7 separate regions of the Homo sapiens genome follow, and all the other regions are linked to region 1. The links are contacts of gene promoters, found by promoter capture Hi-C in blood cells and fetal thymus (Javierre and others, 2016). All regions are on one chromosome and are shown on one strand. The core of a region is centred on a gene start or on the middle of the fragment in contact, and the rest is flanking DNA. Distances in the headings are between cores, read along the strand shown. Region 1 holds the start of AKR7A2 (aldo-keto reductase family 7 member A2). Region 2 overlaps TMCO4 (transmembrane and coiled-coil domains 4). Region 3 overlaps TMCO4 (transmembrane and coiled-coil domains 4). Region 4 holds the start of NBL1 (NBL1, DAN family BMP antagonist). Region 5 overlaps MICOS10-NBL1 (MICOS10-NBL1 readthrough). Region 6 holds the start of MICOS10-NBL1 (MICOS10-NBL1 readthrough). Region 7 has its middle 19 kb from the start of MICOS10-DT.

Region 1 (3,165 bases), core at 473-2,972:
AACTCCTCTCCCTGATCCCAAGCTGAGTCAGGGTGCTTCGGGCACATGATCACAGCCAATCATGTGTCCACCTTTGTCTACAGGATGAAGTCCAAATTACCTGAGGCTAGGCCTCAAGTTACTCCAAGAACTGCCCTCCCAACCTTATCTCCTGCCTCCTGACCCACGTCTTCAGTCATTTCAGGTCTCCAGGCTTCTGCACGTGCCATCTCTTCCCCTAGAAGTGTCCTGCTCCCCTTCAAGGGCCTGGTCATGAGATAAGAAGACTCACTTCTAAATTGCCCTTTCAAAGATGCCCCATGAGAGCTGGCTGGACAGGACCTTCCACCTCCTCCTCTCCCCTTGTCCACACACCTGAAGAACGCTACCACCGTCCTCTGCGACCACTGTCTTTGAAACGTACTCTCCCCACCCTGGGTTGTGCATTTCTTATTCTCCAGGTGTAAACACACCTAGAGGTTCAGCAAATGTTGAGAGACAGTGAGAGAAAGAGAGAGGTAGAGAGAAGGACAGAGTGAAGAAGAGAGGAAACGGGTGAGAAAGGAGAAAGGGTGGAAGAGAGAGAAGAGGAAGGAAAGGAGAAAGGAAGGGGAGAAAGCTGTGAGCTCGAACAGCCCAGGGTTGAGGAGAAAAGCACTCTGGAACAGACCTGCCCGATGCCTACCAGTCTGGAACTCAAGTGATTGAGCTTCGTAGTTCTCATCTGAAAAGTAGGGGAATAATGCAATACCCACCACCTAGGCTGACTGCAGAGTTAAATGAGACAATCCAGGCCAAGCGATTACAAGGGTGCCTGGCACTGGCACTCAACACCAACAGCCCAAAATGACTATTATTTGTTCTCATTGTAGCCCCTCCAGCGTCCGGGCACACAGGCGCCTTCAGTAAGCGTTGATTAGACATGACCTGTGACCCAGGCCCGGGACCCCTCACACTTCCAGACTCAGACTCTCCATTTACACGTTTGGAAACCTACCCTAAGCACGGCGTGGGAGGAGGCAGTGTAGGCCCTCGGTCCCTGCAGACCTGGGGAGATTGTGGAGGGAGGAGCGTCCCAGCTCGGGGCTACCACCCACTCCAGGCCTCGGCGTCCTCGGCCACAGCTCCCTCCTGGTGACTCAGCCCGGCGCGGGCCGCCTGTTTGGAGGGATAATGATAGGACAGCTGCTGGGGCCAGCGCCGCGAGGGCCCCTCGCCCGGCCGGCCCGGGAAAAACGAAGCCATCAGATGCCAAGGGGCCGGTCGGCCGGGGCAGGGCAACTCCTGGCCAGGCCAGCTCGAGAGGCCGCGCTGGTCGCCTTTGAGGTGGGGGGCCACTGGCTGCGGATTCCCGAGGGCCACCCAGTCCCGGCCCGGAGCCTCGTCCCACGATATCGCGCCACAAGGAGGGCGCAGGAGCCGGGACAGTCCAGCGGCCGGAGGAGAGGGCTGGAAGGATGTGGCAGGGAAGCCCAGGAGCCCCGACCCCCAGCCGTGAAGTTTGCCACCTGCCCCCGGTCCGGCTCACCACGTCCAGATCCGCCGCCAGGGCCCAGCTTCTGGGTCAAGGCCCGCCGGGTCAGCTGACCGCGCGCCACCGCCCCCGCGGGAACCGCAGGCCCCGCCCCCACGCCGCGCGCTGGGCTGACCGGGCCTGGAGGCGCCGCTGGGGCCGCGCCTGTTGTCCCCGCCCCCAACTGCCTCCGCGCTCCTCCCCGGCATGGGCGGGGCCCCCGGCTCCCAACGCGCAGGCGCCGCTGCTATGCTGAGTGCCGCGTCTCGCGTAGTCTCCCGCGCCGCCGTCCACTGCGCGCTTCGCTCTCCGCCGCCCGAGGCCCGCGCGCTCGCCATGTCCCGGCCACCGCCACCGCGGGTCGCCTCGGTGCTGGGCACCATGGAGATGGGGCGCCGCATGGACGCGCCCGCCAGCGCCGCGGCCGTGCGCGCCTTTCTGGAGCGCGGCCACACCGAACTGGACACGGCCTTCATGTACAGCGACGGCCAGTCCGAGACCATCCTGGGCGGCCTGGGGCTCGGGCTGGGCGGTGGCGACTGCAGAGGTAACAGTAGCTGCAGATCCTCCCCATGCATCGTGTAGAGCTGAGCCTGTCCCCAGCCGTGCACCACCCCGCTCGGGCCCGGCCGCGGGCAGCACCGACGGATTCGTCCCTCGCTCCCCACCCCAGGTCCACCCCGCAGCTCTGGGAACCCCGGGACAACTAGACAGTGCTTTGCCCTGACTCCTTTCCCCCACTCTCCTTCCCTTGGGAGTTGCAGCGCGAGAGTCTCCCCCCAGCCTGGTCTGACCCATCGCTTCCCACCTCCATTGATGCCCCCGCCTCCAAACCTGCCAGGTGCCCACAACCGGTCCCCACCCAGGCTCTCCCCCTTTTCTCTACCCCTTCGTTACCATCATCACGCATGCACACCCTGGGCACCCTTTTCTCATCCTGGCCTTTTCTTAACCACTAGAATTTGACCTGTGCAGCTGGCAGTACCTCTGCCTCTCTCAGGGAGAACTGTGGCGATGCCGTAAGGCTGGCTGGGAGAGTAGGAGTGTTAGGGAGTGCGGACGGGTCAGGGTGTAGGGACTTTCTATCCACTCTATGCCAGGCTTTGACTTGGGGCCATAGGAGGGAAAGTGATTCCAGCCCTCCACAGGGAGTTCAGAGTCTAATGAGGAAGATTGAAGTAATGATTGCTGGAGAGCCCAGAAGAGAGAGTACTTTAGGGAGCTGCAGGCCGGGGAGAGGCACTAGGGAAGGCTCAGCAAATGCTGGATGGAGCTCAGCCTTAAAGGCTCAATGGTAGGTTGGAGGAGAACAAGAGAAAGGAACATTAGAGTCTGTGCAAAGACTTGGTTTGGAAATGCAATGTGCGTGATGTGTGAAAGGAAGGCCACTGGGCAGGTGGGGCTTGAGTGGAGGATGGAGGGGACTGTCCCTCGTGAGCCTGGTGCCCTTGATAGCCCTTGGGAGGGTGCCTGGCACTCAGTGAGGGCCCAGGGAACGTGGGCTGTTACCCTTACCATGCTTCACCCACTGGACTATCCTGAGGCTGTTGCTCCCCACCCCTGAGGAGAGGTTCTCTCTGGGTCCTCCTGAGTCATAGCGCTTGGGGGGTCGGGGGGAAAAGAGGGCAAATGTGAATCTCAGGCCCACGCTGTTTCTAGTTCACCTGGCTGCA
Region 2 (3,165 bases), core at 435-2,934, 430 kb before region 1:
ATTTCAAGCCTCACATCTATTAATGTCTTTGGCAAAAGCAAGTCACATGGCTGAGTCTAGAGGGGATGGGCAGGGCAGGGGTCCCCACTGCAGAGTTATGAAGCAAAGTGGGAGGGTACAGGGTGTGGAGACGAATTGGGGCCATCTCACACGTGACAAGGGCTTGAGCAGAAGGGATTGAGTCCATATATCAGAAATTCATGAGTTTCGGATTTCTTTGTTCTTTAGCAGTTTGATTGGCAAACTTGCAGGTCCAAGTTGGAGACTGCATGCATTTATTTGAGCATCTGTTAGCCAGTCACTTCCCTAGTAGGACCCTAGGACAGGGGCCATTCCCTTCATCACTATCTCACCTCCCCAGGCATTGTGGCTGCCCTGACCTGGCCAGCCTCACTCCTCAGTGTCGCCAATGTCATCGACAACCCCTGGGGGGTGTGTCTCCATCGATCAGCAGAGGTTGGCAAGCACCTGGCCCACATCCTGCTCTCCCGGCAGCAGGTACCTGGGAATGGCTGTGTGGGCGTGGCATTGAGCAAGAGGGGAAGTCAGGTGCTGACTTGTTCACAGATATCAGCCTTAGAGGCAAGGCTACTTGGAGATAACTCAATGGTTTTGGGGGTGTGGGCAGTCCTTGCTGCCTCTCCAGTTCAAGTAATGAATGTGTCCTAGGATGAACAGTAAAAATTATAGACTCTGCAGCTCTAGCAGGTATTTAGGTAAGGACTGAATAACAGGGCATCTGCAGGTAGGAACAAGTCTGGGGGACTCTGGCAGAAGCAAAAGTGGCTCCTATGTATCAGCTCTTCATTCAAGTGTTTAGGATAATCACTGGGCTCATTTGGGTGATATTTCAGTGGAAACCTCTGACGCAGTTTGCAGTGAAGCCAGTAAAGTGAATGAGACCAGGTGCTTCAGCTGGCCACCAATGGAATTCCCACATGCTGGTGGCCTGGTGTTCCTTCCCAGAAGTATAAAGCTACTTTGTGAGGTCATCTTTGGTGGTCTAAATACCATGTAAAATGGTTAGGAAGAGACATCATCATAATACTTTTAAAATTTGAATCTAGTAAAGATGTACTTACCAAGAGAATAAAACCATCCCCTTCAGAATAAAACTTGAGTGAATGGAGACAAAAGCTTGAGAAGCAGTACCAGAAATGACTGCATTGTCAGGATTTGTTTTGGCTGGAAGTGGGAGAAAACCCAAAATAACAGTGGCTTAAACAAGGTAGAAATTTATTTTCCTGGAGAAGCCTAGCAAGGTTGTCTAATAGCCTTCCATGGTGCAGAGGCCCAGGTTCCTGCTACCTTGTTGCTCTGGGGTCTTGACCTTGTATCAAAGATGGCATCATCCGAGCTCCAGGGAGCAGGAGAAAGGAAGAACTGAAGAAGAAACAGCAAAGCCTTACAACATTTCAGTTGGTGTCTCACTGGCCAGAGCCTAGTCACATGACCATTCCTAGCTGCCACAGAAGCTGGGAAATATAGTATTTATTCTGAGTGATGATGAACCCAGCTGAAATTCAATTACTATGGAAAAAAGGGAGGATGGATATTGAGGGATGACAACTAGCAGTTTCTGCCATGCAGCTAAACTGCTTGAGCAACTGGCCACCCCCTTCAATCCCTGCGTCTTTGTCAAAAGAAACAGAAAATCCTTCGGCAGGCTTGACTCTAAGGCAAAGGCCAAAGTGGCATTGGCTTAGACAAGATAGAATTTTGTTCTCTCCCAAGTAAGAGTCTGGGTGTCAATATCTGGAGCAAGATGATGTGTTAGTTTCCTGCTGCCACTGTTACAAATTACCACAAATTTACCAGCTGAAAACAAATGTACTATTTTACAGCTCTGGAGGTCAAAAGGCAAAAATGCATGCCTTAGGGAGGATCCCCTTTCCTTGCCCTGTGCTAAGTCTCAGCCCTGTGGCCACCTCAAGCTACGGAGGAGTCAGGGAAACTTCGTCTTTGGCTGGGTGGCCGTGTGCCCAGTCAAACTCAGGAGTAAAGGACAAAGGGGAGAATGATATTGGGCAGTGGCCAGCAGGGTTGGCACAAAGCTCCTGCAGGATTCGAATACTGTTTAACAGAGGATTTTCTACTGTGGTAAGTGGAGTGGTGTGGGGATGTGGAATACGTGTATTGGCACAAAACCAAGGAAAAGGAATAGACTGGTAAAACCAGGCTGGGCCTCCAGAGCTCATCCACTCCCCTCCTCTCCTTCCATGTAAGCTTGTACCCAAACACCCCCAGATAACTTTCATTTTCTTTAGAGTCTTGACATGATCAGTTACCTTTTCTTACAAGTCCTTGAGTCAGAAAATTCCTCTTTCCATCTGACTTACTACCTTATCTTATCACTTAGAGCCAATATTTTGTGCCCCACCTTCCTATCTAGAAACTGAACTGTTGTCCCTCCCTTGTCACTCTTGCCTTTTTACCCCTCACACCTGGGGGTGCCTTCTGTCTAATCTCCCCAGCTCCGGAAGGGGTCCCGCAGCACTGCAGCCATTTGCCGCAAGGCAGATCAGTGCAAGGGAAGTTGCTCTTGTAATTGACTAGCCCTGTCTCCTGGGGAAGATGAGACGGTGGCTGGATAATGATTTGAGATGAAAGGGAATTAACCCAGCCGGGGGCTGCCTGTTGGCCTTGGAGGAAGCCAATTCCAGCAGCAGGTGCACTCCTGCATAAATGAGGGTCCTGACTCTGCTGATTAAGACATCAGCGCTCAGGGACCGGAACAGCACATGCATGATTCATTAGATGAGAATCAGGTGGTAAGGAATGTGCAAAGGCTGCCCTCCTCAGGCCTGATGTTTTGCTAGAACTGGCAGTATTCCTTCCAGACACCTGTGTCCTTTTTCCCTTCAGGGGCGACGACCTGTCACCTTGATTGGCTTCAGCCTGGGAGCCAGAGTCATCTACTTCTGTCTGCAGGAGATGGCTCAAGAGAAAGGTGAGCATGGATTATTGTCACAGACGGAAACCCTTCACAAGCTTGTTCCCAGGGACAGATGTTCTGGGCCAGGGGCCATGAGCCTTGCAAAATGTGTTCCCAGTTCTTAGAAATAATAGTTAAAAGTTAAAAATAGTTTAAAAATCAAGAAAAATCGTCATCAACCTTGGGGAAATGATTTTATATACATACATTAGAGTAGATGCAAGATGGAC
Region 3 (3,165 bases), core at 496-2,995, 390 kb before region 1:
GTGTGTCACACTTCCCCTTCACTCTCTCTCCTGCTCCACCATGGGAAGACAAGCTTGCTTCCCCTTCACCTTCCGCCATGATTGTAAGTTTCCTGAGGCCTCCCAGTCATGCTTCCTGTTAAGCCTGTGGATCTGTGAGTCAATTAAACCTCTCTTCTTCATAAATTACCCAGTCTCAGGTAGGTCTTTCTAGCAGTGTGAAAATGGACTAATACAACCGAGAAGGCTAGGCGTGCACCTAAACCTGCATGTGGCATGTGCCCAGGCAGACTTCAAGGGGTTATATATTTTTTGAGATAGAGTTTCACTCTTGTTGCCCAGGCTGGAGTACAGTGGTGCGATCTCTGCTCACTGCAATCTCCTCCTCCCAGGTTCAAGTGATTCTCCTGCCTCAGCCTCCCAAGAAGTTGGGATTACAGGCATGTGCCACCACCCCGGGATAATTTTTGTGTTTTTAGTAGAGACTGGGTTTTGCCATGTTGGCCAGACTGGTCTCAAACTGCTGGCCTCAAGCAATCCACCGACCTTGGCCTCCCAAAGCACTGGGAATACAGGTGTGAGCCACCGTGCCCAGCTGCCAGTCTCTAAGTAATCAGATCTTTCATGAACTAATAAACTGAGATCTCACCCATCACCAAGAGAAGGGCACCAAGCCATTTATGAAGGATCCACCCCCATGACCCAAACAGCTCCCACCAGGCCCCACATCACATTTCAGCATGAAATCTGGAGGGGACAAACGTCCAAACCATTTCAAAGAGGGAACAGCAAGGCCAGTGTGGCTGGAGCACAGAGAATGAAGGGAAGGTCAGGCAGGGCTTCGAGGCCATTGCAATGACTTTAACTTTGACTCCATGAGAGATGGGTCCCCTGGGAGGTTTTTAAGCACAAAGGTGACATGATCTGACTTCACTGCAGTATAATTTATGTACCACAAGACCCACCCATTTTAAATGCACAATTTAATGATTTTTAGGACATATATAGAGCTGTGCAATCATCACCAAATCCAATTTTAGAACATTTCCATCAATCTAAAAAGACATCTCATGCCTATGACTGAGAATGTAAAGTGATCAGCTGGGCTCCTGTGTTTAAAATAGCAATAAGAGGTAGAGGCAAAGAAAGTGTTGGAAAGAAACATTTTTTTTCACGGCACATGTGAATGACAATAAGTTCTAAGAGCTGAGGGGTAAAGACATGACTGATGAAGCTTTTCCAACTACTGCAGGTTTGGAACTGCCTTAATGCCAAAGTTATAATAGGATGAAAGGCCTTCAGCTCTCACAGTAAAAATAGGATATTAATAACTTAGCGAGAACTGTTTAAAAATGAGAAATGCAAGCATAAACGCTCTACATGTCTATGACTCGACTCCTGAACTTGAAGTTAATCCCTGCCCTCTTTTACATAAAAAGTCTGAATATTTCTAAAGCTATATAGGGCTCTCCTAATGTCTTGAAAATTTACAAGAAGAAAAGCTGATGGTAGCGGTAGGAATAAATCCCAAACATGTTTCAGCAAACACTCATTGTCCATGCAGTGAAAGGGCAGTGAGGTCTTCTCATATCCATTATTATTGAAATGTTTAAATCTCAGTTTCTTTTGTCGGTCTTGAAAACCGGGGGCATTCTACACTGAATCCACATGATGATCTGAAGGATTTTCTGTCCCTGTGGAAGGGACTTGCTTGACACTGCAAGTGGTACCTGGGCCAGATGCGGTGGCTCACTCTTATAAATCCCAGCACTTTAGGAGGCTAAGGTGGGAGGATTACCTGAGTCCAGGAGTTTGAGACCAGCCTGGGCAACATAGCAAGACCTCATCTCTACTAAAATTTAACAAATCAGCCAGGTGTGATGATGACAGACACCTGTAGTCCCAGCTACTTGGGAGGCAGAGGTAGGAGAATCACTTGAGCCTGTGAGGTCGAGGCTGCAGTGAGCCACAATTGCGCCACAGCACTCCAGCCTGGGCAACAGAGGGAGACCCTGTCTCAAAATTTAAATTAAATTAAAAAGTGGTACCCGAGTGAGGATTTTCCGTAGTTTACCTGGAAGGCTGAATTATTCTAGTATTATAAGGTTTTGAACCAAACAGTGGATTTTGACTGTTTTTTTTTTTCCTTTCCAGCAGCTATGACAGCAGCCAGTATCGTCTTTTTCCTAACCTAAATAGGTTTCCCCTCCTACACCATCCCGTTCTAGGAACAGTCAGGTGGTAATGGGCTCTGACTGCCTATCCATATCTACCTTGGGTGGGTCTAAGGCAAGCTTGTCCAACCAGTGGCCTGCTGGCCACATGCCACCCAGGATGGCTTTGAATGCAGCTCAACACAAATTAGTAACGTTCCTAAAACATGAGTTGTTTTTTTTTTTGCAATTCTTTTTTTTATTTTTTTATCTCATCGACTATTGTGTTAATTTATTTTTATTTATTTGTTTATTTATTTATTTATTTATTTTTGAGATGGAGTCTGTCTCTGTCGCCCAGGCTGGAGTGCAGTGGTACCATCTTAGCTCACTGCAATCTCCGCCTCCTGGGTTCAAGCGATTCCCCTACCTCAGCCTTCCGAGTAGCTGGGACTACAGGCACCCACCACCACGCCTGGCTAATTTTTGTATTTTTAGTAGAGACAGGTTTTTGCCATGTTGGCCAGGCTGGTCTCAAACTCCTGACCTCAGGTGATCCATCCGCCTCAGCCTCCCAAAGTGCTGGGATTACAGGTGTGAGCCACGGTGCCCGCCTAGTGTTAGTGTATTTTATGTGTGGCTCAAGTCAGTTCTTCCAATGTGGCCCACGGAAGCCAAAAGATTGGACACCCCTGGTCTAAGGTGGTTCTTGCCAACCGCCCTTAGCTAACACCATGCATTGCTGAGAGCCTGCCACGTAGCTTATCTCCAGGTCAGCAGCGACAAAGAGAGCAAATCTTTAAAATCTAAGGGTACATCTGGGCATGGCAGTGGTCTAAGGAGGAAAGGGGGAGGGTCCCAGCTAGGCAGCTGCCAGCCCAGCTTCAGAGATGGGTAAATGTGTTGCCAGCTTGGTTTGGCTGTGCTCAGGACTATTTTATGGGGTTCAACTACGAGTCTCAGTTCAAGGTCACAGGCGGCTCCCTTTTTAGGTTTTCCTGAAGCTCAGCTGTCCGTGGATCCTGACTGTGGC
Region 4 (3,165 bases), core at 216-2,715, 330 kb before region 1:
ACAGGGTCGTGGAGACACCAGCCTCCTCCAGAATCCAACTTCAAGAAAACAGGCTGTGCCCCACTGCCAGGCTGAGCATGCTGCTGGGTGCAGAGGGTGTGGAGGGTGGCTGGGCTGCAGCCCTAGGCTTGGGGCTTGGCAAGGGCGGGGCGATCGCTCCAGGTCTTGAAATGAGCACAGGGACTTCCTTGAATGGTGCAACTGAAATTGTTGCTCTGTGAAGGGGCAAGGCAGTGTCAGGCTTGGGGCTCCCTGCTCACCCAGGTCAGGCCCCGGCTCTGGTCAGCCCAACCGGGTTTCCTGGGCTCACTCTGGGGTTTGAGGATGAGTTCTGGCCAAAGCTCATACATTGGCTTTCTGTGTGCCTGGAGTCAGGAGAGTCTAATGGTTATAGCTCGAGCCACTGACCATTTGCTTCCCCCCTCAGCTTCACGTTTGCATCTGTAAAATGGGCAGCCTGGCCTGGGAACGTCCATTTCAGCAGATCCCCCAGGGAGGAGCCTGGCTCCAGCATACTGCTTAAGGCCGCTGTGATTCCACGACCCCAGTCTCACGGCAGGGTGGCTTTTCCTTCCTTCCTTCAGCACTGGGGAGAGCATGAGTCAACTGTCCAGAGGGCGGACACACAGGGCCGACCCCGTGCCACCCAGGCCTGCCTGCATCTTCCAGCCCTGACCACCTCTGTGCCAGCCCCCAAACCCAGGCCACGGCCCTCCTTACCGCAGACCCTCCTGCCCGCAAACGAAAAACAGTCTCCAAAACAAATCCATGCTAATGAGCTGCTGCAGGGCCAGGCTGCACATCTGCTCAGCAGAAGTTCCACTGCAGACCTCACCAACAACCCTGCCCGCTCCGGCAGCCTCCGACCCTTGAGGTTGTGGGTGGGGGGAAGCAGCTAAACTCAGCCTGAAATTTCACTTTAAAATAATGAGGCGATATCCCTGGCCGATGCAGAACACCTACTCCCCTGTCCACCCCTCCAAAACACAGGCCCGGGAGAGAGGTCCAGCTTGCAGGGGTGGGTGGAGAGGGGTAGGGGTCACCGAGGAAACGCTGCAGCCTCGCCTTTTCTTTGGCCCCAACTCAAGGCAAACCACGCCCAAGCAGCCCCAGCATCTGGGGGAGTCTAGGGAGGCCCCATTCCGCAGTAACAAAGGGTGAGGGGCTCCTTGTTGACAAATTGCTTCCCCGCCAGCGCCCGGTCTTTGGCCTCCAGCCCTGACCTCTGTTTTCCTGGGGTGCCCCTAGTTACAGGCTGGTGGCGTCCAGCTTGGGGAGCGAGGGCCTCCGAAAGCCTGGAAGTGTGGCTTTCTCCCTTGATGCCCGCCAACCTCCGGCCACGCCAAGGCAGGCGGCTGCCCCCTTTGCCGCCGCTTGTAAACGATCAGAATCGCCCCGCCCTGGGAGCGGGCCGGGCAGGTGGCCCGCAGCAGGGCCTGTCGTCCAGCCGGCCTCGCGGGGGTGGAATTCTTAAGAAAACTGAGCCCCCGGAAAGGCTGGCTCTCCCTGCCCCAGACTCAATTCCAGGGAGATGACCCGGGCCAGGCCTCGGGGCCGGCGGGAGGCAGGGGGAGGGTTTGCCGCACCCGGTCTAGGAAACTATTCGTGAACCCCGCTGGGGGAAGGCGAGCCTCCGACACTGGGGGATTGTCTGGATCGGAGGGCGGGGGATCAGGGAGAGGCGCAGACACAGGGCGAGACCCCCACAGAGGGCAGCGCAGAGACAGAGAGAGGGAGAGAAAAGCCAGAGGCAGAGACACAAACGCGGGCAGCCGAACACGGAGGCAGGCGGGGAACGGAAAGAGACGGGCAGACCAGGGGAAAGTGAGCGGCGGAAACGGAGCGACGGAGAGACAGACACACGGACGTGGGGACCGAAGCAGAGGGGGCCGCGGGAGGCGGAAACGTCCAGAGCCGAGAGGCGCGGCGCGGCGAGGCCCGGGCACGGCCGGGGGACATGCGAGCCCGGCCCGCCCGGCCACGCATCTCCCTCCCTCGCTCCCTCTCTCCCCCGGCCGCGGAAACTCCGATCCAGAAACGGAACCCTGGGGCGAGTCTGGGGACGGGCTCCGGACGCGGCGGTGCCCCCCGGCCACCCCGTGCCGCGCCCACGTCCCCAGCGCCGGCGTCCGGAGGCGCCCGCCAGGTCCCCCAGGGCTCCTGAGCTCGGCGGCGGCGCCTCCACCCGGTGCCCGCGGCCGCCGGACGCGCCGGGGGACGCAGCTCCGGGCTGGGGGCGCGGCACTGCCCCCGCGGCCGAAGCCTCTGGAAGCCGGGCGCCCGCGTGCCGACCCGGGCGGGACTTACCGCGCGCGCCCGCCGGTCCTGCGGAGCTGGGTGCGGGGGTCGCGGGCCCGGGCGCCCCAGGAGGCTCGGCGAGGCGGCCGGCAGGGCGGGGGGCGGCCCCGCGACGCTCGGCTGGGCTGCGCTGCGCGCTGTCTGCGGCCCCGGGCGGGCGCGCGGCGCGGGGGAGCGGCTCCGACGTCAGGGTGGCTCCCTCCAAACAGGGCGCGAGGGCGGGGGCAGCGGGGAGGGCCGCGCGCAGAAAGAGCGGGCGGGCGCGCGCGGCCTCTCCCTCCGGGTGCGCAGGAGGGGGCGCCGCGGCGGCAGGGGCCCCGGGCCCTCTCCTGGCCCGCCCGCCCCGGGCTGAGCTTCGGCGCGCTCCGACGGCGTGGTGGGGCGGCCGGGACGCCTGGCCGGCGCCCGAGAGGCAGGGCAGCCCAGCCGGGCGCCCTGGCCCGTTCTTAAGCGCCCTCCCCGGGTTTCTCTGCGCTTCCACTCTCTCCGCCCGACTTTTACCGAGCCTGGGCCGTCAGGCCGTGCCAGGCCTCGGGGTGACAAAGATGGATGTGTCCTTTTTGTGGGCACCGGGCATTGCAGACTTGCCCCGAGAGTGGGGCGCCCCAGCCCGCCGCGTCCCGGCACCAGGAGTCCCCAGTTCTGCGGTGCACCTCATCCCGTCCGCTCCGGCATGCGACCCGGTTCAAGTCCGTGCTGTTGGTAGCCTGGGTTGCTCAGCCTTGCCTAGTGTTATCCTAGTGTCGCTCTCGGCCCCACGCCCTTGGCTTAAGCATCCCGAAAAGCCCCAGGGACTTATTAGGAACTAAAAAGCCAGCAAATGAACTCACTTCTCTGACTCCTGGGAAGAGTGGAGCTCCTGGCCCC
Region 5 (3,165 bases), core at 290-2,789, 310 kb before region 1:
TGGGGAGGCTGAGGGAGGGTATTTGCTACCCTGAATGTACTCACTATAGCACTTGCAAGAACTAAGGTCTAATCAATGTTCCAGAACTGGAGTCAGACATGAGTTGTACCCTATTGCCCAGCCTCCCCCTCCATGCCTTTCCCCTGCCCCTACACACCCTGGCTATGCTGAACTACTTGCGATTTCCCAGCTATAATATGCATTACATGATCCTGAGCAAACACAGAGGCTACCCTCCTTCTGTCTGGGATTCCCAGTCAACTTCGGGTCCCAGCGCAGGCATTCCGTCGCCTGTGGGGCCATCCTAGGGAGACATAGTTGCTCCTTCTCCTTTGTTCTCAGTGTACTTTGCCTACACCTCTCTTCTCCATTAAAACACTTCTTTCAGAGTTGTGTTTGCACGTCTGTCTTTCCATCAGACTCTAAGCTCCTTGAAGGCAGAAGCCTGTGTCTATTTATCCATTTATCTCTGCTGCTTACAACAGTGCCTCGCTTACAGTAGATGATAAATCAACATTTACAGGATACAGGGGCAAGTGGGATCGGGCTCTCCCTATCTTAATTCTACGATAAGGAAAAAGAAATAAGAACGGCTGAGCGCTGGGGTTCTGTATATCGTCTGAAGAAATTGCTAAAATATGACTTTTGCATCTAGCATCCCTGGTTCAAGTGAAACCACAGGAACAAACTCAGAGGGGCATCAGAAGTGGCCCTTTTGTCCTCAAACTTCAGCTGCTACGTGAAGATAAAATTAACCCCAATCGGGCTCCTCCGGCCAGGTGGGTATGCCATGAGCTTTCCTCCGCCCTCCAGAGCTGAAGCTTGGACTGTCTCAAGCTCTATGAAGCTGCAGGACTTGACTTCAATGGAGTGGGCCATCCACACAGCCAGGATTCTTCCCCTGCTAATACAGCAGCAGTGGGACCGCCTTGCAGTAGGCACAGCGGAGATGTGCCCTGCCAGGTCCCCAGGTGAGAACACACGAAGAGGTGCCACAGAAGGAAAGGCGCCTTAAGACATCAGTCATCTCCATCAGGCCACGCAGCAGCAATCTTCAACTTCTGATTACGAGGTGGAAGCAGTTCTGAAAACTACGCCTGAGGGGGCAAATGGGAAGGATACCCAACAACTGGTTTCAGGGGGTTCTCAGAGAGGCTGTGAGCAGGTGGCTACAGCTGCTGGCAGTTCACACACAGTCCTCCTCATGCTCAGAGACCAAAGGTGAAGAAACAAAGGCCATGCAATGGACTTCCTCTTTTTGTTTAATTTATTTAAGACCACCTCCTTACAACTTCCAGAGAGAAAATACAAAACAAGAAACAGACTTGGTTTCAAATGCATAACCAGGTGCTGGAGTTTAAAGCATTACTGATAACATTGTTACAGAAGAATGGCAGCTTACTCCAGGGCACTTCAGTATTCCTGAGGAATAAACATGATTTCTCTTGTCCTCCCGCTGGGATGTTCTCAGGTGAAGTCACTGCTCCTGCTCCTGTAAAGCAAGGACATTCAGCTTAAAACTGTGCAGACGGCATTCTGACAACCCTCTCTAATTGCTGTATCAGGTCAGACCCAAAGGGCCAGAAGCCAAAACCTTATCACACTGTTTACGTTAAAACTGTCTCACAACAGGACTATGTACACCCTACCTAGGTTCCTAAGAGTGCCATCCAGCCCCAATCTTCCAGGGAGAAGAGTGGGAAACGAGTGGAACAGGGCCAAACCATCATGACCTGGATAACAATTCCTAAAACCTGTCGAAGGCGTCCCAGGGGAGTGGGGAGAGCATGGTTCTCATCAGCCTACGAACTACATGGCCTTGCCAAGTTTCTCAACCCCGGTAAGAGTCTGCTTTCTCATCAGCTGAATGAGGATAGTAACATCTCTCACAAATCAACTGGCAGGTCTAGAGGGAAAGATTATTAAAGATAAAGCACCCAGGATGGTCCTGGGGGCAGATTGGGCACTCAGGAGGCAGTTATTACAATAGGACTACACTGAATAAGCCCAGGTTGGGATTTTGCTCCATTTTTCAGGGAATGGAGGATGACAACATCGAGGCACAGACTCAAGTCCAGATAAAGTTACAAGGCCATTTTGGAGCAGGACACACAAATGTAAAAAATGGAACAATATTTTCCACAGGAACTCCCAGCCATTAAATACATAATATGCATATAATCACCCCTGAGCCATTATCCCTGACAACTCAGTTTGGAACAATGGAAATGTTTTAAGCAAAAGACCTGAAGCTTCTCTGTCTGCTCCTTTCGGTTCTCCCCACAATCAGCTCTGATGCCAGGAAAGCGAGGAGCCAGGGAGTGGTGGAAAAGGCCGGCTGCCGGCTTCAGTGCCACACAGCTGCGCCTCTTCTTGCATGGTCCCTGTGATGACCTCACTCTTGCTTTGGTGCAGAGATGGCTCCCCTACTCCCATCTCTCCAGCAGACATGGGCTGGCTGCAGGCAGCTGACGGTTTCAGCAGGTTCTAAAATGGCAGGTGCAGGGCCGTGGCAGGATACTGCTACTTTGGATTTGGTGGCCCTTGTGGCCACAGCTCCTGACTAGAATTAGGACATGCATTTGTACCACATTTTCCACTCTACTTGTTGTTACAGTGGAACAATGGACAAGTCAATCACCCTTTTTGGGCTGGCCTCATCTATAATAACCAATGTTTTTATATATTTCGTACTTCACAGCTTAAAAACATTTTGTGTCTAAATCTCACAACAACACTATAGGTAGAAATTATTACCCTCATTTTATGGAGGAAAATGGAAGCTCAGAAGTGAAACAACTTAAGATCACACAGGAAGCAAGTGACAGGCTTGCACCTAGGTCTCCTGGCTTCTGTGCCCTTTCCACTAGCCCCACTGCAGCCCCGTTCACAGTGATTCTAGCCCAAGAGTAACCTGGAAAGCTGAGGCTTCTGTGCATGCAGGGAATGTGAAGTTGTTCACTGAAAATTGTGCTGCTACAAAGGTTATGCCTTAGTAAGCCTGAGGCCATCGGCACTTACCTCTAATAGAATAATTTACCTCATTCATTCATTTTACATTTATTTGAGTGCTATTTTGTTTCAGGCCCTGGGAATACAAAATAAGTGCCACCTCTGTCCTTGGGCACCCAGCCTCCAATGTTCCTGTCACTTAAACCCCACAGT
Region 6 (3,165 bases), core at 176-2,675, 280 kb before region 1:
CCCGAGTGACCTCCCGCCGGGGCCCGGGCGGCTCGCCCTGGCCGGAGGGGCCGGAAAAGGCCGAGAGGCCTGACCTCCCGTGGGGCTTCCCTTCCTTCCTCCTGGGCAGCGCAGCCTGGAGCCAGCAGCTCTGCACCGGCCGGGCCTGCTGGGGCGAAAAGCCCCTTACCTATCTTCACGACCGCATCCGCCAGACACCGGTCCCACTTCCTGCCGAGCTCCGACTCAGACATGTTCCCCACCCGCGCCTCCAGCTTTCCTCTCGGCCGGCCCCCGCGCTCCGACCCCTGAAAGTCTCGCGAGAGCTGGAAACAAGTCCCAGGTCAGGAAGGCAGGCGCAGACGCTCCAGATATCGCGAGATGATCCGCTGCTTCCATCCCTTCCGGTTTTTTCAGTTGGTCGTCAAGGTGACGAGTTGTCTGGAGGCTCGAGGTGACCCTGACCTTGGGGCTGCGCCTATGGGTTTGCGAGGCTGACAGTTTCCTAGGCGTCACCCCAAGCCGTGACCAGGCCTTTCCTCCTCACCAAAGTGCGACATTGGCCCTGGAAATCCCCCGGGCAAGAGAGGGTACAGACTTGATTTATTCATTCATTAACGTACTCACCTTCACTTTCCCTACTCACTCTCTCATTCGTTCACTGGTTTCTTGCATTGGAATTCCCGCCTGAACCACTAACACCGAAACTGCTCTGGGAAAGATTACCTACCGCCAAATCAAATGGACTCTTTTCTGACCTCTGTACCGCATTCCACACAATTTTCCCTCCCTCTGATCCTCCCTGGCTCCTCTATTCGTTTCACTCCCGGTAACGCCACTCTTTCCTCTTCTCCCCATCTGCTGTTGTCTGTTGGTTTCCTCCAGGGCTGCCTTTTCTCTGCCAGCTGTTTAAGGACTGTTGGTTCGCAAGCTTCCATCAATTCTCTTTTCACTGTACAGACTCTCCCTGAGTAATTGCAAACACTGCCAAATTATATCTCCAGGTAAAACGTCTACCTCAGGCCTCCTATCCATGTATATATTTACACACCCACCCACACACACACACACATACACATACATACACAGGGTGCCCTCTGTATCTGTGGGTTTTGCATCCATGGATTTAACCAACCATGGACCAGAAACATTTTTGAATCAAATAAAAAATAATGCAAAATTTAAAATACAGTACAACTATTTACCTAGGATTTACATTGTATTAGGTATTATAAGTAACCTAGAGATGATTTAAAGTATATGGGAGCCAGCGCAGTGGCATGCGACCGTAGTCCCAGCTACTTGGGAGGCTGAGATGGGAGGATTGCTTGAGACTAGGAGTTCGACTTCATCTCTTTAAAAAAAAATAAGTAATTTTAAAAAAGGATATGTAAGCATGTGTGTAGGTTGTATGCAAATACCACGCCATTTTATATATGGGACTTGAGCATCCTGCATTTTGGTAACTGCGAGATCCTGAAACCAAATGCCCACAGCTATCAAGAGAGATTGTATATCCAGCCTACTGGCTAGTGTCATTGATTTTAGTCTTCCATCCTACCAACAAATAGAAATCTGACCACGTTATGCCTCTGATTAGAAGCTGTCAATGAAGGCCGAGAGCAGTGGCTCACACCTGTAATCCCAACACTCTGGGAGGCTGAGGCGGGAGGATTGTTTGAGGCCAGTAGTTCAAGACCAGCCTAGGCAGCATAGTGAGACTCCTGTCTCTACAAAAAATTTAAAAAATTAGCCAGGCTAATGTGATGTGTGCCTTTAGTCCCAGCTACTTAGGAGGCTGAGGTAGGAGGATCACTTGAGCCTGGGAAGTGGAGGCTACACTGAGCCATGTTCATGCCACTGCACTCCAGCCTGGGCATCAGAGTGATACCCTATCACAAAAGAAAAAAAAAAAAAGCTGTCAATGACTCCCATTCATACACTGGATCTATCCAAGCTTCAACACTGCACTGATTCTAGGAAGCCTAGTCAGATAGAGCTTAGAGCTGCCTTCCCCTTCTCATTGTCCCACTACCCTGCCTACCCGCATTGATTTCTCTATCTAGTACTGAAACATCTGGTTGTAGATATTATCTGCTAGTAGAACTAGAAGTTGCCCCTTCGTCTTCATACTTCCAGTCAGAGCACAATGCCTTGGATAGTAGGGTCTTCTATGAAATATTTGTTGAACTGAATTGAATTTATTCACCTATTTATTTGTTTATTTATTTATTGAGAGAGAGTCGCGCTCTGTTGCCCAGGCTGGAGTGCAGTGGCACGATCTCGGCTCACTGCAACCTCTGCCTACTGGGTTTGAGCAATTCTTCTGCCTCAGCCTCCAAAATAGCTGGGATTACAGGCGCCCACCACCACGCCTGGCTAACTTTTTGTATTTTTTTAGTAGAGATGGGGTTTCGCCATATTGGCCAGGCTGGTCTTGACTCCTGGCCTCAAGTGATCCACCCACCTTGGCCTCCCAAAGTGCTGGGATTACAGGCATCGTTCAACTATTTATTTGCAACTATGACAGCAAAACTCTGTTGTATCAGATCTTGCTACGACAGCCTCTTCCTTCAAGATAACTTCTATGACCACCCTTCCCTTCTCCTAGTTCTCTATTTTTTTAAATTATTCTTTCTTTTTTTTTTTTTTTTTGAGACAGAGTCTTGCTCTGTCACCCAGGCTGGAGTGCAGTGGCATGATCTTGGCTCACTGCAACCTCTGCCTCCCAGGTTCAAGAGATTCTCCTGTCTCAGCCACCTGAGTAGTTGGGATTACAAGCACGTGCCACCACCCCCAGCTAATTTTTGTATTTTTAGTAGAGATGGGGTTTCACCATGTTGGCCAAGCTGGTCTTGAACTCCTGACCTCAGGTGAACCACCCACCTCAGCCTCCCAAAGTGCTGGGATTACAGGCTTGAGCCATCATGCCCAGCCCTATTTTTCCTATTCTTTAAATTTTTCTTTGCTTTTCCTTTTTTATAGAGGTGAGGTTTTGCTATGCTGCCCAGGCTGGTCTCGAACTCCTGGGCTCAAGCCATCCTCCCACTTTGTCCTCCCAAAGTACTAGGATTATAGGCCTGAACCACCATGCCCAGCCCCTTCTAATTCTCATCACAGCTACTTATCAGATGATTTGTGTTTTTAATAATTGTTTGTAATTTTAACAATTATTTGTGTGTCTTT
Region 7 (3,165 bases), core at 322-2,821, 270 kb before region 1:
AGCCAACATTCAGGTGGAAATGCAGAGTAAATAGGGAGGTCAAATGGAAGTTAAAAGCATTGCTAAAACCACCTAACATTTAGAGGCTAGGGAGATCAGGGTAAATCAGCAAAGAAAAATGAGAAGGAAGGAACATGGACGGGAGGAAAACCAAGAAAAAATGGTCTCCTGGAAGCCAAATGAAGTGTTTCAAGAAAGACAACATGATTAACTGGGCCAAATGAAAGAGGGTGGAGAAGTGGCCATTGGTCTTAACATCAGAAAGGTAATTTTAGAGACATTGACAAGGACGGTCTCCATGGAGTAGTTGGAGCCAAAGTCCAAATGCAGTGTGTTTGAGAGAGACTAGGAGGAGAGGGGCTGGAGGCAGCAAGTGCACACAATCTTTTCTAGAAGTTTATTTCCAAAGAGGGACGAAAAAGGGCAATAGTTTGAGAAGGGGTGGGTTTGACAGTGGGTTTTTTTAGAATGGGAGAACTTGCTCATGTTTGTATGTGGATGGGAATGATTCAGTAAAGAGGGTAAAACTGATGATGCAAGAAGAGAGAGGAGGGCCAGGCACTGTGGCTCATGCCTGTAATCCCAGCACCTTGGGAGGCCGAGGTGGGTGGATCACTTGAGGTCAGGAGTTCGAGACCAGCCTGGCCAACATGGTGACACCCCGTCTCTACTAATAATACAAAAATGAGCTGAGCGTGGTGGCAAGTGCCTGTAATCCCAGCTACTTGGGAGGCTGAGGCAGGAGAATCACTTGAACCCAGAAGGCAGAGGCTGCAGTGAGCTGAGATCGCACCACTGCACTCCAGCCTGGGCGATAGAGGAAGACTCTGTCTCAAAAAAACAAACAAACAAACAAAAAAAGGATAAAAGAGGCCGGGCCTGGTGGCTCACGCCTGTAATCCCAGCACTTTGGGAGGCCAAGGTGGGTGGATCATGAGGTCAAGAGTTTGAGACCAGCCTGGCCAACATGGTGAAACCCCATCTCTACTAAAAATACAAAAATTAGCCGGGCATGGTGGTGCATGCTTGTAGTCCCAGCTACTTGGGAGGCTGAGGAAGGAGAATGGCTTGAACCTGGGAGGTGGAGGTTGCAGTGAGCCGAGATCGTGCCACTGCACTCCAGCCTGGGCGACAGAGTGAGACTCCATCTCAAAAAATAAATAAATAAAATAAAAGAGAAAAGAAATGCCGAGACTTTCTATTCCAGAGGGCTAGAAGTAGAAGGTTTATTTCTAAGAAAAGGGAGAATGCTAGACATCTGGAATTTCCTCTCCATGGATGCCTGGGTCTCTGGGGCCCAACTTTTAAAGTTGAACACTTATTTTTTGATGTGGTTAGAATCCCTGAGCCCAAAATATGTTCCCAAGAGTATTTAATTAAATGGGAATCTGGTGTGCATCTGTGACTAATTAATGCTGATCAAAAACAATTAAATATTAAATGTCAGTGGTTTCTTACCTGGTTTCTTACCAATAATTGCAAAGGGCTGAATGCAATTATCAAGTCCTGACCTCCATAAGAGCCAAGTTCACATTAAAATAATGAACGACTGAAACAGAGCCAATGAAAGAGCAGATTTTGTGAATGTTTTAAAAATTGAAGCAATGAAATGCTAATCATCAGGGCAAAGGTATTAGTCAGAGTTCTCTTCCTCAGCCTATGGATGTAGAAGGGTCCTCTCTCCAAGAGAAAGAACGGAAGCCCCGCTTAGCAATGTAGCAAACATTTCTAACAGTTCTCCTTATAGTAAAATGTTTTCATGTGCTGATAACTGTTATAGGATATAAATATATATAATGATGTAATTCACTCAACAAGTATTTGATGAGGACTTGATTTGGCCAGGTTCTATGCTAAGCTCTGGGAATAAAGAAACACTGAAGAACTCTCTATCTTCAAGGTCTAGTCTAAATACCCTAACACCCACCATTATCAGAACCACCTGGTGTGTGTTGCCCTTTCCCTCTCTGGTTCAATTAGTATGATTAGGGGCTGCTGTTGTCTCCTGGTTTCCTAAATAATATACATATTTTTAAATTTATTGTACTGCTTATTTTGGAGTGATTTTAAAAGATGGTAGCAGAAATGCCTTTATTGTGCCATCTTGAAGCTGGCAGGCCCCCACGCCCCTCGTGGTCCTGGTGAAAGGTGAGACACATCAAGTGGATCCCACAGATGAACTGCTTCTTCCCTTTGGGAGCAATGTGGGGGATTGAAGAACAAAGACCAAAGGCAGTGGCGTGGATCCATATGGTTGTTGAGAGCCAGAAGAATGAGTCAAGCCCAGCAGATCATCCAGCAAAGACATGGGTGGAGGATAGAAACCGTAATGTAAAGCCAAAACAAAGTCAGCTGAGAACCAAGAAATTTATGAACAAGGAGTAGCAGAGTGGAAAAACGAGGTAGTCTGGGAGGATTCCAGAGACAAACTGGGGATGTTGTGGCAACTTTATTTTTTTATTTTTTTGAAATGAAATCTCACTCTGTCACCCAGACTGGAGTGCAGTGGTGCAATCTCGGCTCACTGCAATCTCTGCCTCCCGGGTTCAAGCAATTCTCCTGCCTCAGTTTCCCGAGTAGCTGGGGCTACATGCGCGCGCTACCACGCCCGACTATTTTTTTTTATTTTTTGTATTTTTAGTAGAGATGGGGTTTTGCCATGTTGACCAGGCTGGTCTTGAACTCCTGGCCTCAGGTGATCCTCCTGACTCGGCCTCCCAAAGTGCTGGGATTACAGGCATGAGCCACAGTTCTGGGTCTCTTGTGGCAACTTTAAATCTCACCCCTGCGCTGACTTGAATATGCTGCTCAGGTCATTTCAGGGGATTGTGGTGGTCGAACGGCCTGATGCTATATCCTCCACTGGCCATTTCTAAAGTGAGGAGTAAGCCCCCTTCAGGAAAGCCTGAGTTCAGAGCCTTTGTAAACTGTAAAGCTATAGGAAGTACTCATTTGATGTTCTTGCGATGGTGCTTGGTACTTCAAATTCTTTATCTGTAAAGAGAAGACAACTTCAATTCTCTCCACCTATTTTACAGCTGCATAGGGATGCTGTGTGGATTAATGAGACCTTCAGCCTGACTTTCCCCCTTGGCTGTGCAGGATGCTCCTAAAAGGGACTGTTTATCCTGAGGTTCAGACACATCTGTCTTTAGCTTAAAGCTG

The links. The method cuts DNA at HindIII sites, captures the fragments that hold promoters and counts their contacts. A CHiCAGO score of 5 or more calls a contact.
Region 2: a contact is called between a fragment that was not itself captured here and the fragment with the promoter of AKR7A2 in region 1, in 1 of 17 cell types (total CD8 T cells). The highest score is 5.0, in total CD8 T cells.
Region 3: a contact is called between a fragment that was not itself captured here and the fragment with the promoter of AKR7A2 in region 1, in 2 of 17 cell types (total CD4 T cells and naive CD4 T cells). The highest score is 7.1, in total CD4 T cells.
Region 4: a contact is called between a fragment that was not itself captured here and the fragment with the promoter of AKR7A2 in region 1, in 4 of 17 cell types (non-activated CD4 T cells, erythroblasts, activated CD4 T cells and 1 more). The highest score is 6.1, in non-activated CD4 T cells.
Region 5: a contact is called between a fragment that was not itself captured here and the fragment with the promoter of AKR7A2 in region 1, in 1 of 17 cell types (erythroblasts). The highest score is 5.3, in erythroblasts.
Region 6: a contact is called between a fragment that was not itself captured here and the fragment with the promoter of AKR7A2 in region 1, in 4 of 17 cell types (neutrophils, fetal thymus, monocytes and 1 more). The highest score is 7.1, in neutrophils.
Region 7: a contact is called between a fragment that was not itself captured here and the fragment with the promoter of AKR7A2 in region 1, in 2 of 17 cell types (neutrophils and activated CD4 T cells). The highest score is 6.7, in neutrophils.

The regions. Positions count from the first base shown.
Region 1 is chr1:19,310,701-19,313,865 of GRCh38, reverse strand. It overlaps AKR7A2 (aldo-keto reductase family 7 member A2), which reads left to right and starts at 1,722. Exons shown (of 7, transcript NM_003689.4): 1 at 1,722-2,039. The coding sequence starts at 1,742. SLC66A1 (solute carrier family 66 member 1) reads right to left here and starts at 1,540. Exons shown (of 8, transcript NM_001040125.2): 1 at 977-1,540. RefSeq lists silencers at 1,231-1,320, 1,401-2,040 and an enhancer at 1,632-2,131. The HindIII fragment of the contact is 20,070 bases long and covers 1-3,165 here.
Region 2 is chr1:19,737,157-19,740,321 of GRCh38, reverse strand. It overlaps TMCO4 (transmembrane and coiled-coil domains 4), which reads left to right. Exons shown (of 16, transcript NM_181719.7): 12 at 362-498; 13 at 2,866-2,950. Among named protein-coding and RNA genes, the nearest start is that of TMCO4, 61 kb to the left of the region's middle. The HindIII fragment of the contact is 1,089 bases long and covers 1,140-2,228 here.
Region 3 is chr1:19,704,752-19,707,916 of GRCh38, reverse strand. All of the region lies in intron 13 of TMCO4 (transmembrane and coiled-coil domains 4), which reads left to right. Among named protein-coding and RNA genes, the nearest start is that of HTR6, 41 kb to the right of the region's middle. The HindIII fragment of the contact is 1,060 bases long and covers 1,216-2,275 here.
Region 4 is chr1:19,643,589-19,646,753 of GRCh38, reverse strand. All of the region lies in intron 1 of MICOS10-NBL1 (MICOS10-NBL1 readthrough), which reads right to left. It overlaps NBL1 (NBL1, DAN family BMP antagonist), which reads right to left and starts at 2,443. Exons shown (of 4, transcript NM_005380.8): 1 at 2,308-2,443. RefSeq lists a silencer at 2,358-2,697 and an enhancer at 2,596-3,165. The HindIII fragment of the contact is 7,360 bases long and covers 1-3,165 here.
Region 5 is chr1:19,624,714-19,627,878 of GRCh38, reverse strand. All of the region lies in intron 1 of MICOS10-NBL1 (MICOS10-NBL1 readthrough), which reads right to left. MICOS10 (mitochondrial contact site and cristae organizing system subunit 10) reads right to left here. Exons shown (of 4, transcript NM_001032363.4): 4 at 1-1,492. The coding sequence ends at 1,478. Among named protein-coding and RNA genes, the nearest start is that of NBL1, 18 kb to the left of the region's middle. The HindIII fragment of the contact is 1,431 bases long and covers 824-2,254 here.
Region 6 is chr1:19,594,114-19,597,278 of GRCh38, reverse strand. It overlaps MICOS10-NBL1 (MICOS10-NBL1 readthrough), which reads right to left and starts at 300. Exons shown (of 4, transcript NM_001204089.2): 1 at 170-300. MICOS10 (mitochondrial contact site and cristae organizing system subunit 10) reads right to left here and starts at 300. Exons shown (of 4, transcript NM_001032363.4): 1 at 170-300. The coding sequence starts at 233. It overlaps MICOS10-DT (MICOS10 divergent transcript), which reads left to right and starts at 447. Exons shown (of 2, transcript NR_135054.1): 1 at 447-569. RefSeq lists a silencer at 1-87 and an enhancer at 208-507. The HindIII fragment of the contact is 1,026 bases long and covers 913-1,938 here.
Region 7 is chr1:19,576,333-19,579,497 of GRCh38, reverse strand. No RefSeq gene overlaps it. Among named protein-coding and RNA genes, the nearest start is that of MICOS10-DT, 19 kb to the left of the region's middle. The HindIII fragment of the contact is 3,214 bases long and covers 1-3,165 here.